3 separate regions of the Homo sapiens genome follow, and regions 2 and 3 are each linked to region 1. Evidence: promoter capture Hi-C in human tissues and cell types (Jung and others, 2019). All regions are on one chromosome and are shown on one strand. The core of a region is centred on a gene start or on the middle of the fragment in contact, and the rest is flanking DNA. Distances in the headings are between cores, read along the strand shown. Region 1 holds the start of OR10H5 (olfactory receptor family 10 subfamily H member 5). Region 2 has its middle 4.0 kb from the start of CYP4F8. Region 3 has its middle 4.2 kb from the start of OR10H4.

What was found. The method cuts DNA at HindIII sites, captures the fragments that hold promoters and counts their contacts. A contact is called where the count stands out against the background at its distance.
Region 2: a contact is called between a fragment that was not itself captured here and the fragment with the promoter of OR10H5 in region 1, in 9 of the 25 tissues and cell types used here (H1 embryonic stem cells, bladder, heart right ventricle and 6 more).
Region 3: a fragment that was not itself captured here is called in contact with the fragment with the promoter of OR10H5 in region 1 in 5 of the 25 tissues and cell types used here (mesendoderm cells, neural progenitor cells, ovary and 2 more).

What each region holds. Positions count from the first base shown.
Region 1 is chr19:15,786,059-15,789,432 of GRCh38, reverse strand. OR10H5 (olfactory receptor family 10 subfamily H member 5) reads right to left here and starts at 1,772. Exons shown (of 2, transcript NM_001004466.2): 1 at 1,717-1,772. The HindIII fragment of the contact is 26,370 bases long and covers 1-3,374 here.
Region 2 is chr19:15,609,578-15,612,951 of GRCh38, reverse strand. It overlaps the pseudogene RPL23AP2. Among named protein-coding and RNA genes, the nearest start is that of CYP4F8, 4.0 kb to the left of the region's middle. The HindIII fragment of the contact is 7,491 bases long and covers 1-3,374 here.
Region 3 is chr19:15,943,093-15,946,466 of GRCh38, reverse strand. No RefSeq gene overlaps it. Among named protein-coding and RNA genes, the nearest start is that of OR10H4, 4.2 kb to the left of the region's middle. The HindIII fragment of the contact is 5,665 bases long and covers 1-3,374 here.

The DNA.
Region 1 (3,374 bases), core at 523-3,022:
CTCCAGTGCCCTCTCTCCTCAAAGGAGACACAATTCAACTCATCCAGCTCTTTCTGCTTATGCACTTTATCATACAACTGAACACACAGATGCAAAGGCAGACAGATCTGAGCAATGCCACACAGTCGCACTGGCTCTGAAATGCACACTGGCGGTGACACCCCCAGCCAGAACCAGAGACACCACCACTCATTCTGCACACACCTATGGAGCCCTTGCCAAATGCCTGGTGCTCATCTGGGGCTGGAATAAACTGGAGACACACAGCCATTCCATGTGTGAGGGCACTGTGTGTGTTGAATCATGTCCCTCCAAAACTCATGTTCATTCAGAACCTCAGAATGTGACCTTTGGACACAGGGAGGGGAACAACACACACTGGGGCCTGTTGGGGTAGGGCAGGGGTGGGGAGAGCCTCAGAAAAATAGCTAATGTATGCCAGGCTTAATACCTAGGTGATAGGTTGATAGGTGCAGCAAAGCACCATGGCACACATTTGCCTGTGTGACAAACCTGCACATCCTGAGCATGTACCCTGAAACCAAACTAAACTAAACTAAAATAAAATAATGTGACCTTAGGTGGCAATAGAGTCTTTTACAGATGTCATTAAGGTAAGGATCCAAAAATGAGATCAGCTGGGTGTGGTGGCTCACACCTATAATCCCAGCACTGTGGGAGACCAAGGTGGGTGGGGCGGGGGATTGCTTGAATCCAGGAGTTCGAGACCAGCCTGAGCAACATGGCAAAACCCCATCTCTACAAAAATTAGCTGGGCGTGGTGCTGTGTGCCTGCGCTAACAGCTGCTTAGGAGGCCAAGTGGGAGGATCAGTTGAGCCTGGGAGGTCGAGGCTGCAGTGAGCTGTGATCGTGCCACTGCACTCCAGCCTGGGTGACAGAGCGAGACCCTGTCCAAAAAATAATAATAATAAAAATAAAAATGAGATTATTCTGAATTAGGTTGTTTACTAAATCCAACAACTGGTGCCCCTCAAAGACGAGGGGAGGACACACAGAGGAAAAGGTCGCGTGAAGAGAGAGGCAGAGATTGGAGCGATGCAGCTACAAATCAATCAATGCCTAGAGCACCCAGAAGCTGGAAGAGGCAAGGCATCTTCTCCCTTAGAATCTTCAGAGGGAGAGTAGCTTTGTAGACGTCTTGCTTTAAGACGTCTAGCCTCCAGAACCCTGCAAGAATGCATTTATCTTGTTTTAAGCCACAAGGTTTGCGGCACTTTGAAATGGCAGCTACAATAATCTCATACAAGCGCACACAACTGCACACACACACACACAGTGAAGGCAGGAGTACACATGGGTGATGCCTAAGTACACCCACATGCATGGTGACACACTCAATGTCACCCGCTTGGCTCAGAACCACCCTCCTCCACAACTTAGTATAGAGACCACTCCCCACCCCAGCATGGACCCTGGTGGCCACGACTGCTGTGGAAAGGGGGCTGCTCTAGGCAGTAGGTGGACTCTATGGGGGACTTGGAGTGAGGACAGGCTGATCCAGCCTGGAGTCAGGTGGCTGAGGCTATAGAACCCCTACTCCATATCATCCCATGCTCCCTCTCGTTTCTTTTCCCAAACCTGTGCCTCCCTCTGTTCCAATTTTCCCTGCTTCTCTTGCCTTCTCCCTTCCACCTCCCAGTACTCTTGCCACTTCATCCTGGAAAGCAGGTTTGGAAATAGACGACTCCACTTACCTTCATCAGAGACCTTTAGGGACGCCTTGCAGCCAGGCCTGTAATGGCCCTGGGCACAGTGCACCCAGGGTGAGAGCTTCATCTCTGCAGGCGTCTTCCCCAGTGGCACGTTCCCAGAGGTGTCTTGAGGAGCCTGCCTGGGATGCAGGATGCAGGGTAATCGAAGTCCAAGGAGGGAGGCGGGGGACCTTGGGATTGCCCTCTCCATTCCTGCCTCCCTCCTTCCTTTGCTGCTTCCCTCCCTCTTTTCTTCCTTCTCTTCCTTCCTTCCTCTCTTCTTCCCTTCTTCCATCTTTCCTCCCTTCCTCCTGCCTGGGACCCCTTCCACCACTACTCACTCTCACTTATCTCAGTCCTGTTCTCATTTGAGGTTTCAGTTTTTACATCACCTCCTCCCTAAAGATCTCACCATCAAACCCTGACACCACCATCAAACCCTGACACCACCACCACCACCACCCCCTGCGGCTAGCGAGGCTGGGCTGGGCTGCCCCAATTCCAAGCATTTTGGAAAAATGGGACTGGATTCTGGGTGATGTTTCCCAGGATGGTGTCTCTTCTCAACAGATATCAGGAAAGGGATCTGGAGAGACACAGAGGTGTGATTCTCAGAAGAAGCATCCTCTATGGTTGCCTCTGGGAACACAAAGCCCACAGAGGGCAGGGAACAAGGCCAAGGTCACACGGTAGGTTCCTGCAGCAAGCCCAGATGGAGTGGAGGGGCCAAGAGCTCCAGCTCTGCCTCTTCCTCCCCATAAACTTGACAGGGTGCATCATGACCCAGGTATCAACACCTTCAGAATCTCCCAGTTCCCCATAACTCCAGAAACAGTCCAACAAAGATTTCAGATACTGGAATTATCAGGCAAGGACTATGAAACAATATTGCTTACGAAGTTTAAATAACGAAATGTAATTTTGGAAATATCTTCAAGGATAAAGCATTGTAAAGAGCGGCAGGGTTGATTTGAAAAAAAAGATATATAATTTTTAGAACCAAAGCTACAATATTAATATCCCAGGAGAAGTTTAATGCATGTCAGACACAATTGAAGAGAGAATTAGTGAGTTGGGGGCCGGGCGCGGTGGCTCATGCCTGTAATCCCAGCACTCTGGGAGGCTGAGGCAGGTGGATCACTTGAGTTCAGGAGCTCAAGACCAGCCTGGCCAACATGGCGAAACCCCATCTCTACTCAAAATACAAAAATTAGTCAGATGTAGATTCTGGATATTAGCCCTTTGTCAGATGAGTAGATTGCAAAAATTTTCTCCCATTCTGTAGGTTGACTGTTCACTCTGATGGTAGTTTCTTTTGCTGTGCAGAAGCTCTTTAGTTTAATTATATCCCATTTGTCAATTTTGGCTTTTGTTGCCGTTGCTTTTGGTGTTTTAGACATGAAGTCCTTGCCCATGCCTATGTACTGAAAGGTATTGCCTAGGTTTTCTTCTAGGGTTTTTATGGTTTTAGGTCTAACATTTAAGTCTTTAGTCCATCTTGAATTAATTTTTGTGTAAGGTGTAAGGAAGGGATCCAGTTTCAGCTTTCTACATATGGCTAGCCAGTTTTCCCAGCACCATTTATTAAATAGGGAATCCTTTCCCCATTTCTTGTTTTTGTCATGTTGTCAAAGATCAGATAGAAGGACCTCTTCAAGGAG
Region 2 (3,374 bases), core at 410-2,909, 180 kb after region 1:
CCCATCAATTCCTAAGCCTAAGTCTTCACATCTGACAAATGTGTCTCCTAAAGCATCACAAAGCATTGCCAGCATTCTATCAGACACAGGGAGAGAGAGCAGAGAATAAGTTCCAAATTAAAGATGTGAGTAATGGTCCCATCAATATAAAAAACGTACGAGTGTATGTGTATGTGTCTGTATGTACACATGTGTATGCACACTGAAAAAAATCCAGAAGAATGCACATACCACGATGGAATTGGAGAAATTACAATTGGAGTAGAAACCTTTTAACTTTCTACACGTCTCTGTTGCTTCGTTTTTCAAGCTGGGATGCTATAAATGTAATAATTAAAACAATTTTTTTTTTCCTCTGAAGTCCTTGTCCTTTATTGGGCAAGGGGTGAGGGAAGCAGACAGACCGGTTGGACACAGTAGATGGGTGTGTGAGGACAAAATGCTACCAGAAAGCCAGCCAATCCACACTCCCCTGAAATGGATGCTAACGCCCTTCAAACCCTGGGCATTGGTTTCATACACAGCCTCTTCCAGGGATAAAAGGGGTTCTTGTACAGCTTCTTGTTACCCTCAACCATGGAGGCAAGTTCTGAGTTCTGGTTTTCCTAGGACACTAACTCTAGTCACAAAGATCTCTGGAGTGATCACACATGGTGGAGTGGCAGGGTGAATATTTCAAAAGGATAAGTAGAACAGGAGTCTTGCCCAAGCCCTGTCATGTCAGTGTCTGTGTGTGGCCTCCCAGCCCAACCAGAAATTGACAGAGAGGCATGTATATGGTGAAAAGATATATATATATATATTCAGAATTAGGCAGCTGCACTCAGTTTAGATAATCCCAATTTTGTTGGCAACATCCAAAGCATCGTAATCAGGAGTCAGTCGAACATATACCTTCTTCTCTCCATCAGGCCGAATCAGGGTGTTGACCTTGGCCACATCAATGTCATAGAGCTTCTTCACAGCCTGTTTGATCTGGTGCTTGTTGGCTTTAACATCCACAATGAACACAAGTGTGTTGTTGTCTTCTATCTTCTTCATGGCAGACTCAGTGGTCAGCGGAAACTTGATGATAGCATAGTGGTCAAGCTTGTTTCTCCTGGGAGCGCTCTTCCGAGGATATTTGGGCTGTCTCCGGAGTCGCAGTGTCTTCGGCCGCCGGAAGGTGGGTGACGTGTGGATCTTCTTTTTGTGGCTGTGGACACCTTTCAACACTGCCTTCTTGGCCTTTAAAGCCTTCGCTTTGGCTTCGGCTTTAGGAGGGGCAGGAGCTTCCTTCTTCACTTTCGGCACCATCTTGTGAAAAGGGTCCAAAACAAATTTTTTTAAATAAATAAGGATTTGGTACAGTGGGGACACAGTTGATCCACAACATAGGTGAGTAGTTCTGTTTCGTTTTGTTTTGTTTTGCTTTGCTTTGTTTTTTGAGACAGAGTCTCACTTTGTCACCCAGGCTGGAGGGCAATGGTGCCAATCTCGGCTCACTGAAACCTCCGCCCCACCAGGTTCAAGCGATTATCCTACCTCAGCCTCCCGAGCAGCTGAGATTACAGGCATGAGCCACCACACCCAGCTAATTTTTGTATTTTTAGTAGAGACAGGGTTTCACCATATTGGCCAGGCTGGTCTCCAACTCCTGACCTCAAGTGATCCAACCACCTCGGCCTCCCAAAGTGCTGGGATTACAGGCGTGAGCCACTGCGCCCAGCCAATAGGTGAGTTGTTCTTACTGTGTCACCATGAAGACCCAGCTCCCAGGAATCGGCCTGCAGTCTCCCTAGAACAAGCACACGGGCTGCCCACTAGCTGGAGTTTCACCTTCCCTGTCCTTGAATGCTCAGGAAGGAACACATTCTGGCTTCAGCACAACTGAGTTCAAGTCCAGGCTCTGCCACTCACTAGCTGTGTAACCCTCTGAGTCTCATAGCCTCCTCGATAAAATGCAAAGGTCAAGTTCTAACTTTTAGGTAATTAGTTTCTCAACAACAAACTTCACATGAACACTTAAATGGTAGCAGGCATGGTGCTAGGACCTGGGACACAGGTTGAACAAGACAGACGTGGTCTCTGCTGATAACCTACCAGTCACATTAGTCCCAATTAGCCCCCGGAAAAGATCTCTTGATGCATGGGTTACATCCTGTTCCTGAGTAAAGAATCTTGTGAGTTCCTCAAATCTTATCTTTAATTACTCAGATCTTATGAGTTCTTCCAACTGTTGATGTTCTGATTTTCCACTGATATGGAAAAGCACAATCCTTTGTTTCTAAACCATGAAGTTTTGCTTTATATTTATAAATCATAAAGTTTTTCTTTTCTTTTCTTTTTTTTTTTGAGACAGGGTCTTTGTCACCCAGGCTGGAGTGCAGTGGCGCAGTCTCATCTTACTGCAACCTCCATCTCCTAGGTTCAAGCAACCTTCCTGCCTCAGCCTCTCGAGTTGTTGGGATTGCAGGCATGTGCCACCATGCCCAGCTAATTTTTGTATTTTTAGTAGAGCAGAGTTTCACCATATTGGCTAGGCTGGTCTCGAACTACTGGCCTCAGGAGCGATGAGCTTCTCCTCAAGGGATCTGCCCGTCTCAACCTCCCAAAGTGCTGGGATTACAGGCATAAGCCACTGTGCCCTCTCTTATAAAGTTTCACTGATGGTTTTACATACAAAATGTTTTAGCCTGTATGTTATAACCTGTATCTAATCATTATGACCTCTGTATTATACCCTCCAATAAAAACAGACAATTCTGATATAAGAAGTTCCCTTCTCTTCTCCTAAACTTTCTTATAAAAACATTCCAAATTGTAAAAGATTCTGGCACACATCCAAATGTGTTGGTGCATCTTTCTGGGTTGATCCTCACCTTTGGCTTCAAATAAACCCTTATCAAAGTATTTCTGCCTCGGCAGCTTTAATTTCACTCCACAAAATGATGTAGTCATCAGTGTTTCAGAGTGGCCTCCCTGGTCACCCTGGACCTTCCTGAGCAGGTTTCAACCTTCATGCACGGAATCCATCGTGTTCCCCCAACTGGGATGCCCCTGCTGGATGCAACAGATAAGTTTCTCCTGAAATCAACGAACTTCCTGTTTTAGGCAAAGTTCTGCCTTATTGAAGCTGCTTTCCCCCTTGGCTAGGAGGTGCAGTGATGTTCTCAGAATAAGAGCTACTGCTACAAATTTAAGGTAAGGGTTTTTGTTGAATTCTAGGGCAGGGTAAAATAGGATCTTTGTGAATGGTTTCTCTAGGGGGTTGGGGAGAGACAAACTTTCCTTCGTTTTATCATTTTTTGATCACATTAGGGCACTCTTGCTCCACAACATAGCTTGTCTCACTCAAAACAACCAGGATGGGAAATGGGTCCTGTTAAGACTGA
Region 3 (3,374 bases), core at 479-2,978, 160 kb before region 1:
ATCTCAGTCTAAAATCAGGTAAGAATATTTGCTGAAAAAAGAGACAAATTGGCCAGGGGTGGTGGCTCACGCCTGTAATCCCAGCACTTTGGGAGGCTGAGGCGGGTGGATCACGGGAGTTCGTGACCAGCCTGAAAAACATGGAGAAACCCCATCTGTACTAACAATACAAAATTAGCCAGGTGTGGTGGTGCATGCCTGTAATCCTAGCTACTTGGGAGGCTGAAGCAGGAGAATCACTTCAACCCGGGAGGTGGAGGTTGTGGTGAGCTGAGATTGCACCATTGCACTCCAGCCTGGGCAACAAGAGCAAAATTCTGTCTCAAAAAATAAAAAGAAAGAAAAAAAAAAGAAAAAGAGACAACTATAGGCCTACTTCACCTATCCATGCAGATTTTAAATTCCAGAATAAAACCATAACCTAGTCAAATTTAATGGTATATTAAAAATGGTTTACCATAATAAAGTGGTATAGATTTATTTCACAAATGACAAGGATGGCTAACATCAGAAAACCTATCATATGATTTATCACAGGAGTTGATTAAAAAAGAAAAATCATGATTATTTCAATAAAGGCATAAATATGTTTTTCTTAAACTCTACTCCTATTTATGATTTTTAAAGAACACTTCACAACACAAAATTCAAGGAGATTTTCTTATCTAAATATAGAATATATAGCACAAAATTAGCAAATACTACATACACTAAATGAAGAAACTTTTTGATGCATTATTTTAGGATCAAGAAAAAGCCAAGGATACTCACTAACTCTGCTGTTCTTTAACATGGAGCTGAAAGTCGTGAGTGATGTTACAAGGCAAGAAAAAGAAACAAAGTATCTAAGGTATCTGAGGACTGGAAGCGAAGAGACGTGATCATCTACATATAAAAGATAAAAGAATGATGGTATAATCTATTGGAACAATAACAGAGCCCAGTGATGCAGAAGGCAAGGTCAGCTGGCAAAAATCCCAGTGATCCTCCTAGTGTCACACCAGTAACAAGCATTCAAGAAATAGAAGTTGAATACAGAGAAGGGGAAGATTCCCAACAGCAACACAAACTATTAGGTTGGTGCAAAAGTAGTTGCACTCTTTGCCATTATCTTTACATTTAATAGGAGAAAGTGTAGGATAATAACTTTGTAATCTAGGCACGAGGAAAGACTTCCTAAGCAAAATTTCAAATGCACAAAATATAAAGAAAAATATAAAGAAACATGTCTCAGGATTCCTTTACACACCCAAATTACTGAGCACTCTAAAGGGCTTTTGTTTATTGTGGCTTAGAACTATCATTGTTTTTTACCATATTGGAAATGAAAATTGAAAATCATTTAAAATATTAGTTATTAGTACATTTAAAAGAGCAATAATGAACCTATTGCATGCTAATATTGACAGAGCAGGAGCATCACTATCTTGGACAAGCCCCTCATTCTAAAATTCCCCTTAATAAAAAACCGCCTAAATCCAAAGGGTGTCAGGCTAATGGCTAAGGTCAGCACAACCATAAACCATAAATAACATCTCCAGCCAGAAATATTCCAAACTCCTCCCCAGTGAGAGACATGCTGGCCCCGAAATTTGCCTCCTCTGGCTGGGAAGATGCCAGCCTCAAGATCACTCCCACCCGGCCGGAAAGATGTCAGCCCCAAGATAACCTCCCCTCCTCCCAGAGACATTCCAACCCTGCCATAAAACTTCTCCCCCACACAGAAACATTCCAAGCTTGTGATAAGCCCCTCACCCTAAAACTAATATGTACTCTTAGTGTGTAAGAGAAACTTCTCCTGACTGAAATTGGCCAGAAGCCCCCCTCAGGTTTTATCTAAAGTAAACCTGTCTTTAACTGCCAAGCCATGTTTCGTGTTTCTTTCTTCTTTCTTTAACTCTTACAAATATAAGTAACATTTTCAGGCAAATAACCACATTAAGAAAAAACATTCCGTGAGAAGAGTAGCCTTGTTTGACGTTTTAGCAAAAACATCGTATGTCCTGGCTTGGCAGGAAACAGCTTGATGCTCACATTTCTTTCTTTATTCAGTCTGTGGCAATATGTGCCAGGCGCGGTGGCTCACACCTGTAATCCTAGGCTGAGGTGGGCAGATCACGAGGTCAGGAGATCAAGACCATCCTGGATAACATGGTGAAACCTCGTCTCTACTAAAAAAAAAATACAAAAAATTAGCCGGGTGTGGTGGTGGGAGCCTGTATGATGTCTTAGTTGAGGCATATGATGAAAATATATTCTAATATATAATTAGAAAAAATAAAGACTTCAGGGATCACCCTGCAGAGGTCCTCATATCATACTTTGAAAAATTCTACTATGAAATATCTAGGAATTAACCCAAAGCATCCCATACCTTCAAAGAGAAAAATTTTAAATCCATACTAATAAACATGTAGAAGATTATCTGAACATACGGGGAGCAGTTTACAGTCTTGGGTGGTATGGCTTGATGTATGAATGATGTCAATTCATACTCAAATTATAACCTCAATACAATTGTGTTTACAGTTCCAGTGAATCAACCATACATTTAATGAAACTATTTGAAAATTCCTTCAGAAAAATAAATGTCAGGCCAGTGTGGTGGCTTACACCTGTAATTCCAGCACTTTGGGAGGTTGAGGAGGCCAAGAGTTTGAGACCAGCCTGGCCAACAAGACAAAACCCTGTCTCTACCGAAAATACAAAAATTAGCCAGGCGTGGTGTTGGGCACCTGTAATCCCAGCTACTCAGGAGGCTAAGGCAGGAGAATCACTTGAAACCAAGAGGTGGAGGTTGCAATCAGTGGAGACGGCACCACTGCACTCCAGCCTGGGTGACAGACTAAGACTCTGTCTCAAATACATACATACATAAATGTTAGCACGAACCATACTAATATTATAAAAATGGAAACAAGAGAAGAGCTGTTCTCTCCCACATGCTGAGACACACAATAGCGTCATAGTCATTTTTAAAATTATGAAAGATGGAACAGACATAGATCTGAATAAGTTGATTGGAAATCTCAAAAAATATCCCTGCATTATTCAAAACCTAATATAGTACATGATAAATGTACTGGCACAAGTCAAGAGGAAAAGGTAGATTGTTTACTCATTGTAGTGAAAAAACTGCTCATTTTATGAAGCAAAGTAAATCTGATTTTCTGCCTAACAGCACATACAAAGGAGGAATCCAGCTGGATTCAAAAAATAAATACCAAATGTCAAAGTATAAATTTAGTAGAAGAAAGTATAGGAGAATAACTTTGTGAGCTAGGCTTGAGGAAAGACTTCCTAAACAAAATTTCAAAAGCACAAACATTAAGATGATTTTTAAAACATGAAAAAAATCAGCATTAAGGATTTCC